Regions from separate parts of the Homo sapiens genome. Here all the other regions are linked to region 6. The links are contacts of gene promoters, found by promoter capture Hi-C in blood cells and fetal thymus (Javierre and others, 2016). All regions are on one chromosome and are shown on one strand. Each heading gives the region's core, a stretch centred on a gene start or on the middle of the fragment in contact. The rest is flanking DNA. Distances are from core to core; before and after follow the strand shown.

The links. Contacts are between HindIII fragments. The CHiCAGO score rates a contact against its expected background, and 5 or more counts as called.
Region 1: a contact is called between a fragment that was not itself captured here and the fragment with the promoter of VWA8 in region 6, in 6 of 17 cell types (total B cells, total CD4 T cells, naive B cells and 3 more). The highest score is 13.9, in total B cells.
Region 2: a contact is called between a fragment that was not itself captured here and the fragment with the promoter of VWA8 in region 6, in 3 of 17 cell types (megakaryocytes, M1 macrophages and erythroblasts). The highest score is 5.9, in megakaryocytes.
Region 3: a fragment that was not itself captured here is called in contact with the fragment with the promoter of VWA8 in region 6 in 1 of 17 cell types (M0 macrophages); the score reaches 5.8 in M0 macrophages.
Region 4: a contact is called between the fragment with the promoter of KBTBD7 here and the fragment with the promoter of VWA8 in region 6, in 7 of 17 cell types (non-activated CD4 T cells, total CD4 T cells, monocytes and 4 more). The highest score is 11.4, in non-activated CD4 T cells.
Region 5: a fragment that was not itself captured here is called in contact with the fragment with the promoter of VWA8 in region 6 in 3 of 17 cell types (M1 macrophages, M0 macrophages and M2 macrophages); the score reaches 9.8 in M1 macrophages.

Annotation. Positions count from the first base shown.
Region 1 is chr13:41,258,115-41,262,402 of GRCh38, reverse strand. It overlaps MTRF1 (mitochondrial translation release factor 1), which reads left to right. Exons shown (of 10, transcript NM_004294.4): 2 at 1,488-1,910. The coding sequence starts at 1,496. Among named protein-coding and RNA genes, the nearest start is that of MTRF1, 3.3 kb to the left of the region's middle. The HindIII fragment of the contact is 258 bases long and covers 2,405-2,662 here.
Region 2 is chr13:41,363,226-41,367,523 of GRCh38, reverse strand. It overlaps NAA16 (N-alpha-acetyltransferase 16, NatA auxiliary subunit), which reads right to left. Exons shown (of 20, transcript NM_024561.5): 14 at 1-85. Among named protein-coding and RNA genes, the nearest start is that of NAA16, 54 kb to the right of the region's middle. The HindIII fragment of the contact is 2,313 bases long and covers 1,124-3,436 here.
Region 3 is chr13:41,408,626-41,412,952 of GRCh38, reverse strand. No RefSeq gene overlaps it. Among named protein-coding and RNA genes, the nearest start is that of RGCC, 47 kb to the left of the region's middle. The HindIII fragment of the contact is 7,503 bases long and covers 1-4,327 here.
Region 4 is chr13:41,193,046-41,197,255 of GRCh38, reverse strand. KBTBD7 (kelch repeat and BTB domain containing 7) reads left to right here and starts at 2,687. Exons shown (of 1, transcript NM_032138.7): 1 at 2,687-4,210. The coding sequence starts at 2,999. All of the region lies in intron 3 of KBTBD6-DT (KBTBD6 divergent transcript), which reads right to left. RefSeq lists enhancers at 2,517-2,606, 2,917-3,186, 2,531-3,237, 3,238-3,945. The HindIII fragment of the contact is 3,616 bases long and covers 1-3,561 here.
Region 5 is chr13:41,381,912-41,386,115 of GRCh38, reverse strand. It overlaps the pseudogene TUBBP2. Among named protein-coding and RNA genes, the nearest start is that of NAA16, 73 kb to the right of the region's middle. The HindIII fragment of the contact is 1,837 bases long and covers 781-2,617 here.
Region 6 is chr13:41,959,777-41,964,282 of GRCh38, reverse strand. VWA8 (von Willebrand factor A domain containing 8) reads left to right here and starts at 3,174. Exons shown (of 45, transcript NM_015058.2): 1 at 3,174-3,430. The coding sequence starts at 3,268. It overlaps VWA8-AS1 (VWA8 antisense RNA 1), which reads right to left and starts at 3,114. Exons shown (of 4, transcript NR_039974.1): 1 at 2,049-3,114. RefSeq lists a silencer at 3,095-3,504 and enhancers at 3,705-3,844, 3,940-4,440, 4,441-4,506. The HindIII fragment of the contact is 5,183 bases long and covers 2,662-4,506 here.

The DNA of each region.
Region 1 (4,288 bases), core at 1,284-3,783, 700 kb after region 6:
AATCTCACAACTAGAGATCATTTTATTAACATTTTGGTATGTTTCTTTTTTTTTTTTTTTTTTTGAGACAGCGTGTTGCTTTGTCGCCCACGCTGGTTGCAGTGGTGCGATCTCAGTTCACTGCAACCTTCGCCTCCCAGGTTCAAGCGATTATCCTGCCTCAGCTTCCCGAGCAGCTAGGACTACAGGTGTGTGCCATCACGCTCAGCTAATTTTTTTGGTATTTTTAGTAGAGATGGGGTTTTCCCATGTTGGCCAGGCTGGTCTCGAACTCCTGACCTCAGATGATCTGCCCGCCTCGGCCTCCCAAAGTGGTAGGATTACAGGCGTGAGCCACTGTGCTCGGCACATTTTGGTATGTTTCTTATTTAACTTTCTTTTTAAAAAATACTCTATGTGCTTTTTTTTTTTTACATGTATACCTTATATTGTAGAATATTTTTTAAATGTAATTGAGATTCTATTTTGTTCCTTGCCTTTCTTGCTTAATATAATTGTCACCATTTAATATAACTGTAGAGCTTTTCACCAGCCCTACTTTCTTGGTCTATTAATACTTGAACTTTTCTTCCTTTAGGATCTCAGCTAAACGGGAAGCATTTTTGAAAAGTGATTGCACAATTGAGAGTGAAAATTACTGAGTCCTGAACAGGCAACTTACATTCTAATACCAGCTCTGTCTCCATCCAGCCGACTGAATAGTCGTGATTAAGTTACTTGACTTCCTTGGATATCTAGATCCTTAAAGTTAAAGAATTATACAAGATAATAATATTTTCTTCAAACTTTAGAAAATGACTTTATGAACCGCCTTAAGTTTGTATGTTTTCATAGCTTTCAAGAGCTTGTTTACACACTCAATTCTAGATTCTAGATACTTTCTAGAAAATAACTGACTTAACTCATTCAATTGATATATTTGTTAGTTGTACTCCTACTCATATGCTTCAGTTAATTATATATGTTGAACAGGTAGGAAGCAGTGCTGTTTTTATTTATTTTAATATGTTATTCATACATTTGAAGAATTATGTTCTTTCTGTAGGCAGCTGAATTTTTTTTTTTTTTGAGACGAAGTCTTGGTATTGTCCCCCTTGCTGGAGTGCAATGGCATGATCTCGGCTCACTGCAACCTCTGCCTCCTGGGTTCAGGCAATTCTCCTGCCTCAGACTCCTGAGTAGCTGGGATTACAGGCGCCTGCCACCACGCCCGGATAATTTTTGTATTTTTAGTAGAGACAGTGTTTCACTATGTTGGCTGGGCTGGTCTCGAACTCCTGCCCTCAGGTGATCCGCCTGCCTCAGCCTCCCAAAGTGCTGGGATTACTGGCGTGAGCCACTGCTGCCAGCCGGCAGTTGAATTTTAAGACTGTGGAGCTGGCTGAGGCAGTAGATGAAACAAGATTTCTTGATGTTCCTTCCAGGTTTATTATGCATGTATCTTTAGAGATGATTTTTTTTTAAAGACTGTGTTTATTGTATTTCAGATGCTGAGATGAATCGTCACCTGTGTGTTTGGCTTTTTAGACATCCATCTCTTAATGGTTACCTCCAGTGTCACATCCAGCTCCATTCTCATCAATTTAGACAGATACATCTTGATACAAGGCTGCAAGTTTTTAGACAAAACAGGAATTGCATTCTTCATCTGTTAAGTAAGAATTGGTCCAGGAGATATTGCCATCAAGACACCAAGATGCTCTGGAAGCATAAAGCACTACAGAAATATATGGAGAACCTGAGTAAGGAGTACCAAACACTTGAGCAATGTCTGCAGCATATCCCTGTGAATGAGGAAAACCGAAGGTCCTTGAACAGAAGGCATGCTGAGTTGGCACCTCTTGCAGCCATTTACCAAGAAATTCAGGAGACTGAACAAGCAATTGAAGAATTAGAATCAATGTGTAAAAGTAGGTAAAAGATACTTATGTGTCCTGCATAAGGGCTATGAAAAAAAAAACCACACACTTATATGCGTGTGTGTAAGTACAGATTTGATTTTCTAAGTTAAAGCTTTATTGAACTTAGTCTTTGTTTTTTTTTTCCCACAGAAGCAGGTTCTCACTTGTTGCCCAGGCAGGAGTGCAGTGACTCAATCGTAGCTCACTGTAACCTGTAAGTCCTGGCCCCCCACTTCAGCATCCTGAGTAGCTAGGACTATTGTGCCAGGGCTTTCCAAAGCGATATGATTATAGCCACCGAGCCACTGAGGCTGGCCTGAACTCAGTCTTTTAAAAAAACCTACAAGTAATAAGCTCAACACTTGGAAAGAACAGGACTCTGTACCCAGAGTATTTGACACACTTTAGCTACTAAAGATCAATGTACTAAGTAAACAGGCTCCTCGTGGTACTTCCCGTGGTCTCAAGGTCTGGGAGACAAAATGTTGGTCTTTTCAGAAGCTTTATTTTATTGAGCAGACCTTTATTGAACACTGTACCTACATACTAGGGCTACACATACAGTTCCTACCCCATCAGTGGGCTTCTATGGTCCAGTGAGAGAAACTTATTTAAGTATTGTTTATAATGTGAGACCTGCTCTACTAGAGGGAGGCACAGTTTCATGGGAGCAAAGAGGAGAGGGCACTCAAACCAGCCTGGATTGATTGGGTAAATCTTCCTGGAGGGGACTGCGCATTAGTGGAACCAGGAAGGAAGCTTTTATTTTTTATTTTTATGTTTTTTTTTTTTTTTTTTTTGAGACGGAGTCTCGCTCTGTCGCCCAGGCTGGAGTGCAGTGGCGGGATCTCGGCTCACTGCAAGCTCCGCCTCCCGGGTTCACGCCATTCTCCTGCCTCAGCCTCCCAAGTAGCTGGGACTACAGGCCCCTGCCACCATGCCCAGCTAATTTTTTTTGTATTTCAGTAGAGACGGGGTTTCACCATGTTGGCCAGGCTGGTCTCAAACTCCTGATCTCAAGTGATCCACCCACCTTGGCCTCCCAATGTGCTGGGATTACAGGCATGAGCCACCATGCCCAGCCAGTACTTTATTTCTTTTCATTACTGAATTATATTCCATTGTATGGATATACCACATTTTATTTATCCATTCATCAGTTGATGAACATTGAGTTGTTTCCACTTTTTGGTTATTATAAATAACGATACTGTGAACTTTTGTGTACAAGTTGTTTTGTGGACATAGATTGCTGGTTCATGTGGTAACTCTATGTTTAACCTTTTGAGGAAGTGCTAGACTGTTTTCCAAAGTGACTATAACGATTTTACAGCTCTACACACAGTGTATGAGGGTTCATATTTCTCCACGTACTTGCCAACACTTATTATCCGCCCTTTCAATTATTGCCATCCTATGAATGTGAAGTGGTGTGTTATTGTGGTTTTGATTTGCATTTTCCTGAAGATTAATGATGTTGAGCATCTTTTCTGGTGCTTATTTGGCCATTTGTGTATCATCTTGGGAGAAATCACTGTTCAGATCCTTTGCCAGTTTTTAAATTTAATTGTCTTTTCATTATTGAGTTGTGAGTGGTCTTTATCTTCTAGGTAAAAGTCCATGATCAGATATATGATTTGCAAAAATTTCCCATTCTGTGGTTTTCTCTTCACTTTTTTGATACTGTCTTTTGAAGCATGATATTTTTAAATTTTGATGATGTCCAATTTATCTTTTTTTCTCTTGTTGCTTGAGTTTTGGGAGTCGTATCTAAGAAAATTGCCTAATCTAAGGGCACAAAGGTTTACATCTGTGTTTTCTTACAAGACTGACGTATTTTTTATTTTTATCCCATGCATTTAGGTCTTTGATCTATTTTAGTTATTTTTGTATATGGTGTATTTATTTTTTATGTTTTTTTTTTTTGTTTTTTTTTTTAAGAGATGGTCCCTCACTCAAACTCCGGGGCTCAAACAATCCTCCTGCCTCAGCCTTCTGAGTAGCTGGGACTACCGGCTATTTTTTATCTTAGTTTTTTATTTTAGTATTTCTCAATACTGCTATTGCCTCTACATTTTTTCTCTTATGAAAATTTTCGAAAATTTTTATACAGAAGTTGAGAGAAAAGTTTAATGAACTAACCTATGATTCAACATTTATCCAGATTTGGCTATTAACTTTTAGTTTCTAGATTTTCTTCTGTGCTTCATTTTGTTTCATTTAGCCTTAGCAGTATTATGTGATACACAGGCCAGTCACTGTTATACCTGTAAAGTCCTGGATTTTTGAAGCCTTCCATTTTTCTGCCTTCTATTGATGGTACCACAAGTCTCTTACGTACGTTTAATGGAGATATTTTTTACTCTTTTGCATAATGCCACACAGAT
Region 2 (4,298 bases), core at 1,031-3,530, 600 kb after region 6:
AAAGGTCAACATAGGCACGAAGGGTCATCTTTCTCATGCAGTATGTATGGAAGTCGAATTGGTCATCAGTTATCTCAAAAAAATGCTTAAAAACAAAAATCACAAAATTAACCTTTACATTTATGTCAATAATGTCTACCTTTAGAAAAAAAAAATTGTAAAAAGCCCAAAAAACAATTTAAACAGTCACAATTTTCACTTAGCTGCCCTCTCCAATGTTTTACACTATAAAGGATATGAATTATTTTTGGCATTCAACTTGAACTTTCTCTTCCTACAAACCATGCCCATTCCCTACAAATCATGTTTTGTGATGATACTCAACTTCTATATAAGTCAAAAGATCAGGTTATTTTTTAAACCTGAAAGTTAGTATATATTAATATTTTAGTTTTAATGAAATACTCTTCCTCCATATTCCCTAAAAACCAGCATGGCACAGTTAAACAGAGCTCTGAATGAAGACTAAATATGTGTAGGTTCACACTAAATATTTACAAATCTGACTGCTCTACTCAACTCTACCATTTTCAAGGGCAATCCTTACCCACCGCCTGCCACAGGGCCTAATACATAGCAGACATTCAGTAAGCACAGTATTTGCCCACTCAAGAGATAAGCTTCTTATTAGGGATGCGACCCTGAATAAGCCTTTTAATTTCCTAGACAATTATTTAATCTAAGTTAAGAATAAAGAAATCCATACAGCCAATTTCTTAAGGTTGTTAAAGGATCAAATAATGTATTTTAAAGTTCATTTTCAACAGTAAACTGTTATATAAATACAGAACTTTATTGTTTTCTCTTACTCTACCTACATTCCATTTTAGCAGAAGTTCTGAAACTGGAGTCTATGTATAAACAAGCATAAAAACTTCTTCCTAAGGAGAGAGCTCAAAGCTTTCATCCAATTTTCAATGGATCCATGGCCAAAAGAGGTTAAGAACTAATCCCTTCCATGAAAGGTGAACACTAACCCTCTGCCCCTCCCCCAACAAAACAATCTTATACTTATACTGTTCCCCTGCATGCATTTCCATCTCCAACTTCTTTTTTCATACGTTAGTTTTTCTAAAATCATATAGAAAAATGAGTGATTCAATACACCAATATAGATCAAGCTTTCCTACTAGTTCATGTTCCCTCTGTCCTGGGGATAGTTAAGTCACTCCGCAGAGGACATATTAGTAATTGTCCATAATCATCTGATAATTGCTTGGTAATTAGAAACACACTATATACAGAATTATATTAAGTACCTGAGACTTTAAGACAAAAATTATAATAAAAGTACATAGTATGGAGGGTAAGAAACAGGAAAAGTGAACATTTCACATTAGTTTATGACTAAAAAGCCATGCTTTAATGATGTTGTAATTGAAAACTGCATCTTTCCCACCAATAAAATCAAATCGTAAATATTAACATGAACTTTTTTTTTAAATCAAAGGATTACATATTTCATAAAGTTGTTAGTGGTTTCTCTTAATGTAAATCAAGTTATAACTAGCACAAGAATATTTTAAAAATTCAATACAGTTAACTAAGGAAAAATGGTGGCGCTAAAAGTCCTGGAACACATAATCAGATGAAAACATCTAAGAGATTACAGGACATTCTTTTAGGTTGAGAAACATCTGAAAAAAGGCAGATGACAAACTTCAAGAGATATTCCTAGCAGCATTAATAGACAGAGATTTTAAGTCAAGTCTTGGAGGGGGCCATATGTAACCACAAATATTTAAGCCACCTCTTTATCAGTAACAGCCCATAGGCTGCCTCTCTCCAGTTAATGTCTTCCATAAATTGGGTGACCAACTTATCCTAGTTTGCCAGAGGCTCTCTCAGTTTTTCCACTGAAAGCACTGTGTCTTGCGAACCCACTCAGCCTCAAGCAAACCTGGCTTGTTAATCACTCCATAATAAACTAATGGTGATAGACAGAATATGGCTAAATTAAAAACAAGTGGGATACTGCAGCTACAGCTGATTGTAATATTTGCTTTTGGAAAAAACAGTGTATTGCAGAATACTATATAGAAACAACTAAATAATCTCGGGTTGAATTTTTTTTTAACTTTTTGTTTTGGGTTATAGATACAGAGGAAGTAGCAAAGGTCCTGTATACCCTTCCCTCAGTTTCCCCCGAAGGTTACAGCCTACATAACTACAATACAGTATCAAAACCAAGAAACTGACATTGGTACAATGTGTATATAGTTCTATGTGATTTATCATTTGTAGATTCATGTAACCACTACCCTAAGAAACACAGAACTACTCCATCACCAAGAAGCTCCCCCTTGGGTTGATTTTTTAGTCTCTAAATTTGTAAAACACAAAAATATGCTACACAACACCAACAGATAAAGTTAGTTTCCCTGTACCTTTTGGCCAAACATGAAGAGCATGACAAAAATCACTTAGCTCACTGCAGAAAAGTACGTATTCAAATCTTAACATACAGCTCATGCCCTTAACTCTCTCCCCCTAAGCAAGAATTAAGAAAAGCCGTTCACAGCTTTAGAGTGTAGTGTTTTTATTTTTTTAAGGAACTCCTTATTAGGCCCTCTCTTCTAGACCAGATTCTCCTTCCCACTACCTCTCAGAGTTCCCGGATGTGACTAGTAAGAGCTTATACAGAGAAAGGCAACAAAAACCTCTGGATTTAAAAAATAATAACTAGGTCAACTAGGAAAATTAGCAACTCAATTTACTTAATAGAGAATCTGTTGTTATAAAGCATGTTATCAATTTGATAAAGATTAAGATACAATAGAAGATAAAGTTATGATCTTCCTATAGTTTGTATCTATCAGAAGTCCTAGGTCTTATCAAAGAGTTAGAAATATATGTATCGTTGCCCTGTTTCATATCTAAGTCAGTATTCTAAAATAATGATAATCCAATCACCAGCAGTCTAATAGTAAAAGAAAAAAATGGAAAGAAAGAAAACTCAATTCTTGAAAGATAAAATAGATTAAAATGTTATTCTGAACACAAGTTTAAATCTAATATTTTGAAGAAGGTTGTTCTGTTTGTTTTAATAAAAGTCAAGTTTCAAACATCAGATTGGGTTGGACTACAAAACCTTAAAATATAAACCCTAAAATCTTATGGGGGGGGGATGAAAACAGAAAAGATACTACACTAGCTTATTCTAGAATTCTAATTTTTCAAATCCAATTACTAAGAGCTCAAAGCAGTATGTATCCTGACTGAAACTGCCTTCAACAAAAGAACTCTTGAATGACTTCTTCAAAGCAGAATAAAGACCTAACCCTTATTTGAACTTATTTCGCAATTCACTAACCTTCTATTTAGAAGGTAAACTGCAAAGTTTTATTTCTGAGAGGTGTCCGTGTCCTTATTAAAATATTTAAGACACAGGCATAAGGTAACTCATGTAGATACCTATTATAATAAATCTGAAGCTTGTAATTACTCCTAAATCCTTCCAATGATATCATTAAGAATTTTAGATTAGAAAATTTAGATATTAAAAATTAAGAAGCATTAATCATTCCATCAACCTAGTCACCCTATTTATACGAAACACATTTCTACATATAACCACACATGTAGAATATACATAATAACTATAAAAGAGTTGTCTTATTTGCTTTTAGTATAGATATATTCACTGAAGACTAGCTTACAACTGGTATAAGAGTAGGTTCTTTTCTTGTTTATGTTTCTACTTCTTTCTAATCTCAAATGTTAATAGTAAACCCTAAAGTTTCTAGCGATAATAATTATGTAACATGACCAGAGGGTGATGATTTCTGCCATTTTAATCTGTGACAACCAATGATTTTCCTGTAGTTTCTTTCTTCAAAAATGCTTTTTACCAATTAATTTCTTGAACTATGTCAGTAGATTTTCTGACATTACAGAATTTTTTTCCATGCAACTCAGCCAAAATCACTAAAAATTTAAGGGAAAGTATAATCTAAATGAAACTCAGTAATGGAAGATCCACTTATCATATTCTAAAAATTCTCAAAATTTTAAAAAACAAAGCAATATAGTCATCAATGTTAGAAGAAATGGAATTTAAGTTCAAGAAGTTCAGAACTATAATGATCCTTAGGATATTCAAATTTCATTTAAACAGAAAATTTGGTAAGTTTCTAGTTATGGTCTTGCTGAAATTACTAATTCGTAAGTGCCTAGCAGCCTCTTCATAAGGGAAACAATTTACCTCTCACTGAGAATGTCCTAGTTAATAAAAATGTATCTTTCCTTAATAACAAGCAGAATGCTCTTAAAATAATGGTCCTCTAGGGAGTGTAACA
Region 3 (4,327 bases), core at 1,467-3,966, 550 kb after region 6:
TCAAACAGCAAAGAACCCACCTGACATGACCCAGCTAATGGGATACCATGCTTTGCACCCCATCTGTCTGACTCCTTAGTTGACCTCTTTCCATGACCCCAAGTGACCTTCCTCCCACACTGCCTCCCTAACTCCTGCTAACTGCCTGCTTCCTAGCAGGGACCACCAGTGATTTATAATAAATGAGGGACAAATGTAAGCAGAATGTTCCAGAGGTAAGAGCCCTCCTTAAAGAAAGCCTAACATGGCTGAGAAGATGGGACTTTTTAGAGAATGAAAAATATCTGTAATTTTTTTTATAGATTTCTGTGAATATAACTGACTACAACAAACATAATTGGGTACATTCACAAGGTAGTGAACATAACCAACTCCCCACTCTAATCCCTTCTCACTCTTTCCTTTCCCCTCCCCATTCCCAGGCAACCGATGAGCCATTCTCTGTCACTATGGATTGATTTGCAATTTTTAGAATTTTATATAAATGGAATCATGCAGTATGTACTCTTTCTATAATTAGTGTTTGAGATTTCTCCATGTTGCTGTATATATCAACAGTTCACTCCTTTTTTATTGCAGAATAATATTCCATTGAATGAATATATCACAATTTGTTTATCTACTCACCTGCTGATGGACATTTGGGCTGTTTCGACTTTGAGCTATTACAAATACAAGGACAGGCAGATGCTATTGTTTGCTCCTGGGTAAATACTTAAGAGTGGAAAGGCTGGTCGACTTCTTAACGCTTAGAGAAATAAAAGCACTTTATTATTATTTTTTTTAGATGGAGTCTCACTCTATCGCACCCAGGCTGAAGTGCAGTGGTGTGATCTCGGCTCACTGCAACCTCTGCCTCCGGGGTTCAAGCGATTCTTCTGCCTCAGCCTCCCAAGTAGCTGGGACTACAGGCATGTGCCACCATGCCCAGCTAATTTTTTTGTATTTTTAGTAGAGATGGGGTTTCACCATGTTCACCAGACTTGTCTCAAACTCCTGACCTCAGGTAACTCAGGTATCTCAAACTCCTGACCTCGGCTTCCCAAAGTGCTGGGATTATAGGCGTGAGCCACCACGCCCAGCCTAAGAAAAGCACTTTAATGTGATTTTAAGCCAAAACAACCACAGCACTTCTTGAACAGCCTCAAAACAGGAGTTTCCCCACAGCTGGGTTTTACAATTCTCTGCTGCCACCATCTGGGAATCAAAAAGACAAGTGGTGTCCTCAGGATCCACTCCCCGGGCCCAAGGTCTACCCTGCCCTCTCTGCTCTGTCCAGCAATGCTGCCCCCACCCCACCACACCACACCCACAGCCTGCAACCCATTCAAAGACCATTGAACTCACTTGGTTACCGGTGATGAATTTCTGAGTGGTTCAGCCACACCCATAATCAATGGGAAGAAGGAGAATAGGACTTAAACCTTTTTAGTCCTAATGTGACAGAGGAAAAAAAAAAGTATTTCAAATGTTAGAAATAAGCTAGCACTCCCTTTGCAACCCAAACCAGTTTGGCAAATTGTGATCTGTGTCACTGGTGTTTTTGTACCCTGGTGCCTGCCACTTGGTAAGTATTTAATTTACATTTGTTGAACGGATGAATGAGTGAATGATCACCACACACATTTCTCTAATTAGCAACAGTAAAGGTGCAGTTGGTTCCTAGTAAGAGCACTCTGAACTAAGGGTCAGAAGACCTGGACTCTGATATTTGCCCGGCCCATAAACTAGCTGTGTGCCAGGATGGGCAACCTTTCTGAGCCTCGGCTTCCTCACGTATAAAATTAGAAAACAACCTGGTGACTTTAGCTTTGGGGAACATTTAAATAAGAGCCACATGCAAAAATCCTTTATTAACTATCAGTGTGTCACAAATGTACAATATCAACGTTTACAAATGTATTTACAAATGTATTCACAAATAAAAATAACTATACAATATGCCTTTTTACATCGTCTTCCAAAAACACAAATCTGTCTCATACATTTAGGGCTGTGTTGTTCATGAGTTAAGGAAGAGCAAATTTATGCCACCCCTAGTAAACCAAGACACGGATGCAGAGAGGTTAATTGAGTCTCTGAAGATCACCCAGGGAATCATTTTTTGGGCAAATTTGACTCTGTCTCTCCCTTCTGAAGTTACACATTCCTCTTTCTCTCCACATTTCCAGTAGCATTTCTCTGTACTAATGTCTCTGACACTCCTAAATGTGGAGATAGACTTTGTAAGACTAAGTGGAAAGCAAATGCGAATTTCTTCCTCGCACCAATGAGGATGGTTCATTTGTGTGCTTGGTTATTTTATAAATGGTGTTAATTAAACTTTCTCAGATAAAGACCACCTAGCTCCAATGCATAGTCCAACACTATTAGAATACAATAAAGCTAACAGACTGTCAGGCCTCTGAGCCCAAGCTAAACCATCATATCCCCAGTGACCTGCAAGTATACATGCACATGACCTGAAGCAACTGAAGACCCACAAAAGAAGTGAAAATAGCCTTAACTGATGACATTCCACCATTGTGATTTGTTTCTGCCCCACCCTAACTGATCAGTGTACTTTGTAATCTCCCCCACCCATCTCCACTACCCTTAAGAAGGTTCTTTGTGATTCTCTCCACCCTTGAGAATGTACTTTGTGAGATCCACCCCCTGCCCCCAAAACATTGCTCTTAACTCCACCGCCTATTCCAAAACCTGTAAGAACTAATGAGAATCCCACCACCCTTTGCTGACTCTCTTTTTGGACTCAGCCTGACTACACCCAGGTGAAATAAGCAGCCATGTTGCTCACACAAAGCCTGTTTGGTGGTCTCTTCACACGGACATGTGAGACACAGACTATTAATGCAAGAGATTATTTTCACCACTGTCAGGAAAAAAAAAATTATATACAGAAATCTGAAATTCTTCAGAATGGGCCAAATTCTCACCTGGCCCTTATTTGTCCTCGTCTGCTCCCACCTCCACACTGCCCATCTGCTCTACCCACAGCTTATTTTAGATGAACATCTGCTTTGGTTTGGAGTTGAGGCTGGGAATGGAGCAGTAAATCATGACTTTGTAAGGACCAGGCAGTGGAGTCTCCATCTTCTACTATCCCACAGCCCTGTTTTGTACATTCCAGTGTGATTACTTTACTCTTCCCTGTGTTCTAACACAGGTGCTCATGGGGTAGAAATGATTAAATGAACACACACATAAACTAGGCTGACACACTGCCAGCATCGTGTGAGTGGGGAGAAGTAGAAGAATGCAATATTCCTTGCTAGGTAGCATCTTTTTCCAGATTCTTCTGGTAGAGAAAACTTCAAGATGATCACACTAATTACAATGAAATATGAATAGCGTAATGATCATGTTTTCAATAAGAAACAGACCAGCTACAGGGGGTCCCAGGGCTGTGGAAGCAGCACTCCTCATGACCCCATCCTGTCACGCTTAGAGTGGGGGAGAGGAACCCACTCATTCTACAGCTAGCCTCATGGCTTCCTGAATGAGCTGTTTATCCTCTTGATTTGCTCTTCAGAAAGATGACTTTTTGAGAAGGAAACATAGTTAACTTACTAACTTCTTAAACGTTTAGAGTTTGGGTAACTTTGCATGAAAAAGAAACAATGAAATATTAAGCTCTATGTTGTCAAGGTAGTAGAAAATCTTAGCATTCAATAAAATCTACCATAAGTAAAGTTGAATATGGTAACTTATGTTAAATGCAGGGGGGAGGTCCGTGTGAGTACAGAACCTTTAAGCTCTCATTAAATGTGGCCCAACATCAGCAGCTGTTCTTTGGATCATCCCTAATACATGTGAGCATCACTAGCACCAGGAATTTGTTCTCTAATTTCACTAAAAGGAAAAAAGACTCCTTGGAGAGTAGCAGCTGATTGAATGTCTTAGAGAAGGAAAAAAGATTATTTTGAAACTGGAATATCCTATTGTTTCCAGAAAGCAAAGATGTTTTTTGAAAATGTCTGGAGTACAGCAACTTGGGGTAGGCTCCATCTGCCATGTAATGACAATTTAAGTATCATCATCTTTATATGCAGTGGAAATCAGTGATTCTCAAACCTGAGAGAGTGTCAGAATCCCCTGGAGGGGTTAAAACATACACATGGCTGGGTCCACTACCGGTTTCTGATTCTGTGGGTCTGGAGTGGGGCCCAGGAATCTGCATTTCTAACATGTTCCCAGGTGAAGCTGCAGCTGCTGATCCAGGGTCCACATTTTGAGAACTGGTATCCTAATGGAATTGAATGAGTATAAAGTATCCTAATTGAACTGAATGAGTTTGTGAGCACCTGTAAGTTCATTATGATACTCA
Region 4 (4,210 bases), core at 1,438-3,937, 770 kb after region 6:
CTTATGGTGTAAGGTAGGGGCAAGGGCAACTTTCTGTCTTACATTCTTGATCCAGTTGTTCCAATAACATTTGTTGAAAAGAATTTTCTTTCTTCATTGAATTGCATTGGTATCATGCTGTATTTCTAAAATTTTAAATTTAATTCCTCAGTTGCACTAGCCACATTTCACGTACCCAAGAGCTACATGTGGCTTCTGGCTACTGTATCAGCCAGCACAAATATAAAATATTCCCAAGTTTTATGGGACAGCACATAGCTCTAGATCTTAGGGAATAGTGCCTAATAGATATCTTCAATTGTGTGACAGGTAACCTAAACCAAATAACACAGTAAGAGCAGATATAAGGAAGGTAAAAATCAGTCACTGCCTATATGAGGTACCTAGAGTAGTCAAAAGTCATAGAGACAAAGAGTAGAATGGCAGTTGCCAGAAGTGGGGGCTAGAGAGTTATTGTTTAAATGGGTACAGAGCTTCAGTTTTGTGATAGTGGCAAAACCGTGTGAATATATTTAATGCTAAAGAACTATACACTGAAAATGTTTAAATGGTAAATTTAGTGTTATGTATATTTTACCAATATTTTAAGAAGTTTTTTAAAATGGCCATTCCTGCGCTGGGCATGTGGCTCATGCCTGTAATTGCAGCAACTCAGAGGCTCAGGCAGGAAGAGTGCTTGACACCAAGATTTCCAGACCAGGCTGGCAACACAGTGAGACCCTGTCTATAATTTTTTTTTAATTAACTGGGTGTGGTGGTATGCATCTATAGCTCTAGTTACTTGGGAGGCTGAGGGCAAAGTATTGCTTGAGCACTGGAGTTTGAGGCAGCAGTGAGCTATTATGGTGCCACTGCACTCCAACCTGGGTGACAGGGCAAGACCCCATCTCAAAAAAAAAAAAAAAAAAGAAAAAAAAAAGGCTTTTTTCCCCAGCTGGTATTCACTGCAAGTCAGGAAACAATCATTGTTACTGATAATGACTGACTTGATTCTCTCTGGTGTATCTGAGGGATATCTAACATCTCTTTTTATTTACAGAGGAGTTATTAGAGCCCAGAGGCTGACTTAATTTAATGTGTCTACCCTAGAGTATTTCCAGTGGACTTCAGCTGATAAGTTGAAGTTATCTTCAGCTGATAAGAGAAAAACAATTTGAAAGTTATTCTCTTGTAATGTGTTATCCATACATGCATGTAACACTGATGATTTTCTTTATTAGGTTATGGTAACATAACAAACTAGCAGCAGGAGCAGTCATGGTTTTGTAATAAAAGTTATCTGAAAAAGTCTGTTACTGGTGGAGGGTGTCCAGGTTCTTGGCGTTTTGGACAAAAAATTGGACAAAACACATAAACAAAGCAAGGAAACAATGAAACAACAAAAGCAGAGATTTACTGAAAATGAAAGTACACTCCACAGTGGGGAGCGGGCCTGAGCATAGGGGCTCAAGGGCCCTGTTACAGAATTTCTGAAGGTTTAAATACCCTCTAGAGGATTCCACTGGTTACTTGGTGTACACCCTATGTAAATGAAGAGAATGAAGTAAAGTTACAAACTCATTTACTCAGCATACACCCTATGGAGAGGATCTTTCCTGTTATAGCTAAAGTGTGAATCAGCCTTATGTTCCCTGCCTCCAGACCCTATTTTCCTGCCTCAAATCTCTAATACTTGATTTTGATGATTTAACTGTTGATCCCAATGCAAATATAAAAGACTTTGTAAAGCATAGACTATACTATATATTAATTCAAGGAATGTCAGGGCATGTACTGATGTTGAATTCTGAGAATCATGTGCTTTTGTACAGAACAAAGTCTGTTTGTTGAAATATTTTGAGTTAAAATACTCCCTAAAACTCCTTAATAAAGGGAATTACATAATCTGTTAATTGATTTGTGGAACGGCAGTGAAAGAGGCTGTATTAGACGACTTGAAAACACTCATATTTGGAGCTTAACGAAAATACTCCTGCTCTCCAGAGATGAAATGTTAGTGAGAGCAGCAAATAATTTATTTTTATATGCTGGATTTGCGTATTTGAGACCATCTATTAATACTGTTCTTTAGGACCTCAACCTAGTCGTCTAAGACATCCTTATTAAACGAGACCAATAGATATCATTTAATATTGAAAATATTGTTAATGCCCTTCAAAATCTTTCGAAGGAATAAACATTAAAAACTAGAAATTCTTTGTAAAATTTTGCGGTTTAAAATAATACTCGGTTTCAAATTAGTGGGTGCCTCATTTATCATAAATTATAAAAGAGAATCTAACAGTTATTGGCTACATTCTAGGCACGGGGTAACGCTTTACTATTCTTCTAACCAAAAACATACATGTATCTAAGTATCCCATGTAAGGTATCATTGAACCACACAAAACCCTATGAAATACTGGCAGGGGGCGGTGGCTCACGCCTGTAATCCCAGCACATTGAGAGGCCGAGGCAGGAGGATAATTTGAGCCCTCAGGAGTTCAAGACCAGCCTGGGCAACAGTCTCTTCACCATCAAATCCAGGAGAATTAATTTCTACTGTTAGAGCAGTCAACTAAAGGACAGCTCGCGATATTACACAAACTACTACTCCCAACATGCAAAGCGGTTTCTTTCCCTCTGTCCCCGCCCGGCCGTCCGAGAGCCCCAGCAGGCCTCGGGGCGCGAAAGGCAACCTGGGAGCAGTAGTTCTCCCGGGCGCCTAGCGGGATCGCCAGCGCGGCAGTGGGGGCTTCCGCGGCTGCAAGCCAGCGGGTCCTGTGAGGGCGAGCGGAGGCGGAGAAAGGGCGCGGGAGTGAGAGAGGGTGAGTCAGCCACTGTCTATGCAATAAAGGGAGGCCTCACCGCGGGATAGGGCTGAATTCAGAAGTGCGGCCCGTGCCGCAGTCTGTTCCAGGACGCGGCTTGTCTTAGCGTCAGCGAGGGAAGGTTGAGGAGGAGCCAGAGCCTGGTCCTGCAGCCTTTCTCGCCGTCAGCGCCCGTCGCCATCTCCACCATGCAGTCCCGGGAAGACGTCCCGCGCTCTCGCCGCCTCGCCAGTCCCCGTGGTGGGAGGCGGCCCAAGAGGATTTCCAAGCCCTCGGTTTCGGCCTTTTTCACGGGTCCAGAGGAGTTAAAGGACACGGCCCATTCTGCAGCCCTGCTGGCACAGCTCAAGTCCTTCTACGACGCGCGGCTGCTGTGTGATGTGACCATCGAGGTGGTGACGCCTGGCAGCGGGCCTGGCACGGGTCGCCTCTTTTCCTGCAATCGCAACGTGCTAGCAGCTGCGTGTCCCTACTTCAAGAGCATGTTCACAGGTGGCATGTACGAGAGCCAGCAGGCCAGCGTGACCATGCACGATGTGGACGCCGAGTCCTTCGAGGTGTTGGTCGACTACTGCTACACGGGTCGTGTGTCTCTCAGTGAGGCCAATGTGCAGCGCCTGTACGCGGCCTCCGACATGCTACAGCTGGAATATGTGCGGGAAGCCTGTGCCTCCTTCTTAGCCCGACGTCTTGACCTGACCAACTGCACCGCCATCCTCAAGTTTGCAGACGCCTTCGACCATCACAAGCTTCGATCTCAGGCCCAGTCCTACATAGCTCACAACTTCAAGCAGCTCAGCCGAATGGGTTCAATTCGGGAGGAGACTCTAGCAGATCTAACCCTGGCCCAGCTGCTGGCTGTCCTACGCCTGGATAGTCTGGACATAGAGAGTGAGCGGACTGTATGCCATGTAGCTGTGCAGTGGCTGGAGGCTGCTGCCAAAGAGCGGGGTCCCAGTGCTGCAGAAGTCTTCAAGTGCGTGCGCTGGATGCACTTCACTGAAGAAGATCAGGACTACTTAGAAGGGCTGCTGACCAAGCCCATCGTGAAGAAGTACTGCCTGGACGTTATTGAAGGGGCCCTGCAGATGCGCTATGGTGACCTGTTGTACAAGTCTCTGGTGCCAGTGCCAAACAGCAGCAGCAGCAGTAGCAGCAGCAACTCTCTTGTATCTGCAGCAGAAAATCCACCCCAGAGACTGGGTATGTGTGCCAAGGAGATGGTGATCTTCTTTGGACATCCTAGAGATCCCTTTCTCTGCTATGACCCTTACTCGGGGGACATTTACACAATGCCATCCCCTTTGACCAGCTTTGCTCACACTAAGACTGTCACCTCCTCAGCTGTCTGTGTGTCCCCAGACCATGACATCTATCTAGCTGCTCAGCCCAGGAAAGAC
Region 5 (4,204 bases), core at 450-2,949, 580 kb after region 6:
GTTCTGTAAGCCATTCAAGCAAATGATGGAACCCAAAGAAGGAGTCATGGGAAGCCGTGATTTATAGCTGGTCGGTCAGAAGGAGCAGAGGCCTGGACTTGCGATCTGCATCTGAAGAGGGGATGGTCTTGTGGGACTGAGCCCTTCACCTGCGGGGTCGGATGCTGACTTCAGGTAAACAGTGTCAGGATTCAGTTGAATTGTAGGACACTCAGCTGGTGTTGGAGAATTGGTTCATGTGTGGAAAAGAGCTGCACATCTGGTCACAGGATTGTTCTGTCTTGAGGGCTCAGTGAACTGTGGCAGGGTGGGGACTTGTGGGGTAATCAAAATGGGTCTGACACAGTCTTTGACTCTCAGAGCCTTCTGGTTTGTGGGCCCAGAATCATGGGATGCTGTTACCTAGATAACCCTCCTCACGCTACAGGCGAGGAATAAGGGGCCAGGGAGGGTGTGACTTGCCTGCGACCAGTCCCCATTCTTTCCGCTCTTGTATCAGGGCCCTCTCCCACACAAAACTGCACTCAGACACATTGGCCAGGTCATGGGCTTTACACATAGCAAAGGCTGTATCTGGGATTTTTAACCTCTGCAGAAGGCAATGATCAGGATGTATTGGATCAGAAATCTATATATTATACAAGGAGGAAATACAGACACTTCCAACACACAGCAACAATCTCATTTCCCTGAGACAATTAAAACAACAACTCTGGTCAACATACGGTCCTTCTTTTCATTCTCAAGGAATCAGAAAAGTAAAATTTGAGTTGGAAAGCTTGCCCTCCAGTGGAGAAATAATGAACTAACCACGCACTTCAAAGTTTCAGAAAAACAATTACCATATGCTAACCAAGTGTTAACTGGAAAATAAAAAAAGTATAAATAAAAGCCTAGGAAAGAATATGAGTACCTGCTGTGAGCTTAGCCTGGACCCTGCCTTTAGAGAACCTCTTTTTGAGAACATGATGGCTGCCTGTGACCCCCGCCACGGCCGATACCTCACCGTGGCTGCTGTCTTCCATGGTCGGATATCCATGAAGGAGGTCGATGAGCAGATGCTTAACGTGCAGAACAAGAACAGCAGCTACTTTGTGGAATGGATCCCCAACAACGTCAAGACAGCTGTCTGTGACATCCCACCTCGTGGCCTCAAGATGGCAGTCACCTTCATTGGCAATAGCTCGGCCATCCAGGAGCTCTTCAAGCGCATCTTGGAGCAGTTCACTGCCATGTTCGGCAGGAAGGCCTTCCTCCACTGGTACACAGGCGAGGGCATGGACTAGATGGAGTTCACCGAGGCTGAGAGCAACGTGAACGACCTCGTCTCTGAGTATCAGAGTACCAGGATGCCACCGCAGAAGAGGAGGAGGATTTTGTTGAGGAGGCCGAAGACGAGGCCTATGACAGAGCCCCCATCACCTCAGGCTTTTCAGTTCCCTTAGCCATCTTACTCAACTGCCCCTTTCCTCTCCCTCAGAATTTGTGTTTGCTGCCTCTATCTTGTTTTTTGTTTTTTCTTCTGGGGAGGTCTAGAACAGTGCCTGGCACATAGTAGGCACTCAATAAATACTTGTTTGTTGAATGTCTCCTCTCTCTTTCCACTCTGGGAAACCTAGGTTTCTGCCATTCTGGGTGACCCTGTATTTCCTTCTGGTGCCCATTCCTTCCATCTGTCCAGTTAATATTTCTCTCTTAAAAATCTCCAAGAAGCTGGGTCTCATCCAGATGCCATTTAGAACCAACCAGGTGCTGAAAACCCATGTAGATAATGGCCACCATCCTAAGCCCAAAGTAGAAGATGGTAGAAGGCAGTGGGTAGAAGTCACTATATAAGGAAGGGGATGGGATTTTCCATTCTAAAAGTTTTGGAGAGGGAAATCCAGGCTATTAAAGTCACTAATTTCTAAGTATGTCCATTTCCCATCTCAGCTTCAAGAGAGGTGTCAGCAGTATTATCTCCACTTTCAATCTCCCTCTAAGCTCTACTCTTTGGAGGTGTCTGTCCCACTCTGTCAAGTGGAATCCTTTCCTTTCCAACTCTACCTCCCTCACTCGAGCTCCTTTCCCCTGATCAGAGAAAGGGATCAAGGAGTGGGGGAAAGAGTCCAGCCTTGGTCCCTAAGCCTCCAGAAATGTCCTCTTAATCCCCACTTTTTCTTACCCCCTAAAAAGAAGGAACATCCCTGACTGTGGAATGGTGTATACTGCCACATCAGTGTTTGAGTCAATCCTCAGAGGAGAGGGGAACCCTCCTCCATCTTTTTCACAACATCTCATTTCTTCCTTTTGCTGTTGCTTCCCCCCCCCCACACACTTGGTTTTGTTCTATCCTACATTTGAGATTTCTATTTTGTGTTGAACTTGCTGCTTTTTTTCATACTGAAAAGATGACATCGCCCCAAGAGCCAAAAATAAATGGGAATTGAAAAAAAAAAAAAAGAGAACCTCTTGTCGAGGAAACAAGACTTTAAACACACACAAGGCCAGGAAAATGAGTAAGACACGGCATGATTACTGAGCATCTGACAGAGAGGAAGGAACACTCAATTCAAAATTAGAAGGAGTGGGTTTGGATCCTGCTTTGTACTAAGAAACTGTGGCCCTGAGAGAAGCTTACATCCTATCAGCTGACTGTCATGGAAAATGGGGATGATAATATGACCTCTTTCACAGGGCAGTGGTGAAGGCAAATCAGAGATCAGAGAAAATACTTAGTGACTGTGAGTGTTCATCAATGACATTTATGAATATTTATTTTGCGCTGAGCTCTGTGATTTATACTCAAGACAGACATGGTTGGAGACCTTACAGAACTTACAATCAAGCTAAATAAGTGGTCATCACAGGGCACCCAAATAGCAGGCAACTGCTAGCCCACATATGTCCTTGCAAGATTTGAAAACAAACTGCAAAACGATGCCCTTTCTGAACATGCTTAAAATGCTCATGGAAAGAAACCAGTAGAGAGGCAGAGACAAATGGTACAGGATGTGATCAAGCCAAGTAAGTACCCTAAGACCTGAGGGAAAGAAATTCAGAACACAGGGAAAATTACCCTTTTGGGGAAGAAAAATGTGACAAGATGAAAGGAGGAAAAAATTCTGCAATCAGAAATAAGTTTATAGATTTAGTACAGGGAAGATTAAGAATTTGTATCTGATGGCTTCTATTTTTTGTTTAAATGGGAAGTGAGGTTATAATTTCCTTATCAATTACCCAGTCTGTGGTATTCCATTACAGCAACAGAAAACAGACTAAAACAGATGGAGATGAAAAGTATTGATACCAGGGAGATCAAGAAACTGAGAGGCCAGAGTGTTGAGTGGGTGCACCAAATAGATGCTGAAACCACCTGGAATTTCAGCACGATTGGAGAGAAGGGAAAGTCTGTGAGTCAGAGAAGTGTATAAATGACAGCAACAAAGAGATGTCAAGAGTACAGCCCAATAGCATTATCCTCAAAGGAGCATGGATTTGTTTGTACAATGTTGGAAGAGTGATGGGCTAGAAATGGTGGAGAGTGAAATGCTCTGAATGCTCTTTCCAGGGAGATGGTGAGAGAATAAACAGTCTCCACTTGAAAGGGCTGCATAATGGATAGAGATCCGTTACGATTTTCAGTTAAAATTAAAAGATAAGCGGAAATGGTGAAGGCAGAGAAAGAAGATGTATGGAACTGTGAAAACGTAGATTTAGTACAAGGAAGATTAAGAATTTGCATCTGGCAAAGCCATGCAGTTGAATATTTTTAGAGGGTAAATTGCAAAGAACACAAGGAAAGAGTATAGAGAGGGGCTGACCTAAGGAAGAGAAAACAACAGATGGGGATGAGAGGATGGGAGAGGAAAGAGAACCAGAGAGCGCTTACGCCTTGAGTGGAACTCAGAGATGGTCACAGGTCTGCCAGAAGTATGAGTCCCTACAGATCCCTGGTGGATTAGGAGTAGGGGGTGGAGGATAAGGGATAGGGGAGTAGTCCTGAATAAGCTACAGGGTAGGTTGATCATATGGCCGTAGGTTCACAGGCTCCCAGAGGCTGGGATTGAGCCGAAGCCAATATATGATCCCGTTCAGGGGCTATGAAGCCACTTTAGCTACTTTAAGATAAAGAACTTTCACTTATCACAATGGCTATCCTAAAGATGTAAAGTCACAAAGTGCTGCTAAAATATTAACAGACACCTGTGTTCTAGAACTAACA
Region 6 (4,506 bases), core at 1,925-4,424:
ATTTTCTTTTTTCTTTTTTTTTTTTTTTTTGAGACAGAGTCTCACTCTGTTGCCCGGGCTGGAATGCACTGGTGCGATCTCAGCTCACTGCAACCTCTGCTTCCCGGGTTCAAGCGATTCTCCTGCCCCTGCCTCCCGAGTAGCTGGGATTACAGGCACCCACCATCACGCCTGGCTAATTTTTGTATTTTTAGTAGAGATGGGGTATTGCCATGTTGGCCAGGCTGGTCTCAACTCCTGACCTCAGGTGATCCACCCATCTCAGCCTCCCAAAGTGCTGGGATTATAGGTTTGAGCCACTGTGCCCGGCTGGTAGCTTGTTTTTTAATAAGCATGTGATCAGATATTTTAGTGAGAGTTTGAGAGACTTTACACAGATTGTGATGAACATCTTTTAAAACAAAACACCTTTGGTTCTTCTTTAAAAACATTGTGAAGGTCCATTCTTTCCCATTCAGTCTCATTGCCATCAGCACTGTTCATCATTTCAAGTAGAGACTATTTTTACTGCCACGTAGCTAGCACTTGATGCTTCCTGTCTTCCTAATTCAATTCATAGTATGTCACCACCTAAAACACGATCAAAAAGTCCAGTAGCTGCCCAGTTTGCTCATCGGATGAAGTCCAACTTCATCCAGCTACTCAAGATTCTTCACTCTGTAACCTTCTCCTCCTGCTCTGCCAACACCTTCTACTACTTTCGAAAGATTAACCTCCTCATCTGGCTGGTCTCATGGCCCCTGTAACTGAACTCTGTCAGGACTCCAAGCCTCTACTTAGGCTCTATACCCCGCTTCTCTGTGTATCCAGTCCTAAATGGCATTCAAAGTTAAGCTCAGGTGCTGCCTTTTCTCAGGCTCAAAGTTTTCCTCCCCATTGTAGCTTTGTCACTCTAAAAAACCTTCACCATTTTTCCATTTCCTGGAGGTTAATGTGCAAACTCCTTCTCTTGGCATACAACATGGCCCCAGATTCTCTTTCTGGTCTTATTCTTACAAACTGTTGTATATACTTGACCTCTAGACACACTGAATCACTCTCTGGTTCTCAATCATGCCCTGCACTTTCAGCTGTTTCTTTCTCTCTCTCTCTGTACATGATCTGTCTGCCAGATTTGACTTGTCTCAGCCTGACAAACTCTTGTATAATATATCCTACATGAATCATTTCAAACACTACCTTCTCTGTGAAGACTCCAGGTGCAGCAATCCACTCCACAGTATGTTGAACCTAAATCTCTTGACACGTGTCTCACTGTATTGCAATTCTTTATTTGCATATTTATCATCAATACCTAATGTGAGCCCATTGATTCACAGTATCTAGCAGGGTACTGTTTATACAGCAGTTACTCAATAAATGTTGTCGTTGGGAGGCTGAGGCAGGAGGATCACTTGAGGCCAGGAGCTTGAGACCAGCCTGGGCAACATAACAAGACTCCACTGCTACGAAAACAAAAACACAAAAATTAGCCAGGCACAGTGGTGCACGCCTGTAGTCTCAGCTACTAGGGAGGCTGAAGCAGGAGGATCACTCGAGCCCAGGAGTTCGAGGTTGCAATGAGCTATAATACTGCCGCTGCACCCCAGCCTGGGCAACAGAGTGAGACTTTGTCTCTAAAAAAAATAAAACTAGGCAAAAAATGTTGTTGAATGCTCTAACTTGTGTTGATCTCTCCATTGTCTTAACTCCAAGAGCTCTTAGTGCTTATATCAACCACTTTGCAAAATTGCCTTAGGTTGTTCTCCCATTCTTTCAGGTGTCTACTGAGTTCCAGCGAGATTAAATGGAGATATCTTGACCAAGGTATTCAATTCTTCTAGCCTCAGTTTCTTCATCTGTAAAACGGAGGATAATAATAGTACCTCAAAGCATTTTTATGTGAAATGGGATAATTCATTAAAATCTTGATACATACAATGTGCTCAAAGTAGGAAAAGCATTTTATAAGCTTACATCCTAAATTTATGTCTTAGGGTTGCTATGAGGATTAAATGAGAAGATACACATGAAACGAAGTCATAATATATTGTGTAACTACTTATTACCTTTATTTTCACTGTCTCCTCATCTAGGTTAGAAGCCTGGTTCAGCCTTCATTCCTCAAGTTCTTCCGCTGGATGCCCAAAGCCTTCCTTACCTAGCCTTGTTTGACTTTTACAGTCTCCACTCTAACACTCTCTTCTCAGCACTCATCACAGGGTCAGGCGCAGGGTAGGTGCTATGTATTTAGACAGTGGCAGCTCTAGAATTAGCAAGGTCTTTAGCTGAAAGTGAGGTCTTCTGCCTTCTTTTTGATGTTTGCTTGTATAACTTGTCTCAAATATTTTGCCTTAGTCAATTCACTGTGACATTTTGGGGATGCAGTCTAATTACATTAGGCTTAGTTTGCTTTGTGGTAGGACCATTTCCGATGTTGGAATGTACAAGAGGGAGGCAGCCTTAGCCAGTGTCCTACTTTTTCCTTTACTAAAGACATAAATCATCTTTATATAACTTTTGTATTACAGCATGACTAGAAAAGTGCTTGATCTGGATCCTTTCTGATATTTAAGCAATTTCCATCTATCACTAAGATGTGAATTTTTTCCTTAGAATTTAGGAAGCGGTAATAAAACACAGAAACAAACAACCACCACCAAAAGGACAAAGGGTAAAGCTTTCACGTACGGTTTGGAAACACTAGTGTGGTTACAATGAATCAAGACAGTTGTGAAAGTTCCCATCATCTTGTGCATGTTTTCTCCATTTCCGAAATCTGAAGCCGAATACAGGGAAAGCTCCCTATACTTACTGGGCCTTTAACTAAGAAACGAAGACTTGGGGCAAGCATCTGAAGAGTCACACCGACAAATGCTCCTAAAACCCTTGGCATTTACTGAACTCCTGAGATTCTGTGGGATCGCAGGGAAACGGCGGGTGAAGGCCTGGTGCATCCAGGTGAACAGACAGTCTCACGGACTGCGAGGCGCTTGCCAGAGCCCAGCGCCGCAGCTCGGAGCACCCCCGCGGTGCGGGCAGTCCCGGGACGGTGCCGGCTCTTTGGGCTGGAGCTCCGCAGGCTCTTTCCGCCCGTCTGGGCCATGCAGGGCCGGGTAGGGCCGGGCTGAGTCTACTGAGCCGGCCGCGCCGCGGGGGAAGGAGTTTCCGGCGGACTCGGCTAGGTGCCGCTTCCTGTCCCCTTCTCCGCGCTGCCTCACGGTGCCTGCACGGGACGCCGCTCGATCCCCGAGCCCCCTCGCCGTCCCCGACAGCCCCCCCGGCGCCATGCAATCCCGGCTTCTACTCCTCGGGGCACCCGGAGGCCACGGCGGCCCGGCCTCGCGGCGCATGCGGCTGCTCCTGCGGCAGGTGGTGCAGCGCAGGCCGGGTGGCGACAGGCAGCGGCCGGAGGTCAGACTGTTGCACGCCGGCTCGGGGGCCGACACAGGTAACTCGGGGTGCGCCCCTGTCCTCCCTGGTGCCCCTGCGCTCCGTGCCGGGTCCCCGCGCGCCCCCGCCCCTCCTCTCTGTTGCTTCGCTGCGCTTGGAAGGACCGTTTGCCGAGCGGGGAGCTGAAAGATTGAGGTTCTAGTCCCGACCTCGGCGCTAACTGCTGTGTAACGTGGGGGCAAGGCGCTCGCCCTCTCTGTGCCTGATTCTGCAACCCGAGGGGTCTGGACTAAGGTTTCTGATGACCTAGAAGAGTGATTTCTCCTTCCCCTGCCGCTGCCTTTACCCCCAGAATTCTGACTTAGGTTATAATACTCGTAGAGGTTAATGCCTCAGCCCTATGGAATTATTGAAAGCTGGATTTGACCTTGCTCTCTGAGCCTCAAGGGCCTGGAAGCCGGTCTGTGTCATGTTCTAGCCAGGGCTTGTGGCGGCTTAGAAGGGAACATTCTTGCCAAAGAACCCATAGTTCACGGTGTTTTAAATGCATCCCCGAGCCTTTCCAAGTTTTACAGGAGTTTTCCTTAAAGTTTCACGTAATTCTTAGAGCTGACAGTTACACCTTAATTTAGTTAAAACACTTGCCTCTACAAATGAGGTAATTGAAACCCAGAAGGGAAAAGTGATTCGCTGGAGAACACACAACTAATTACTATGCTAGAATCACATGCTTTGATTTCTAAGCTCAGTATTTTTTGGCTCTACTTGAGCTGGTTTTAGGAATTCTTTTTCTTGTGTGTTGGTGGAGTTAGAGTTACTGTGATGGTTAAGGAAAGGATATCTGTTGTTGCTACCCTTGAATGGTGAAGTGATTCCAGACAAGATTTTGTCAATGTCAGTGCTGCTTGGAATAACAGGTTTTCACTATGAAATTGTAGGTTTCGTTGTCCTCTTGCATTTTCCCCGCAACCCCCAGTTTTCCTTGCTAAGAAATGAGCATATGGGCCGGGCGCGGTGGCTCACGCCTGTAATCCCAGCACTTTGGGAGGCTGAGGCGGGCGGATCACGGGGTCAGGAGATCGAGACCATCCTGGCTAACACGGTGAAACCCCCGTGTCTACTAAAAAGAAAATA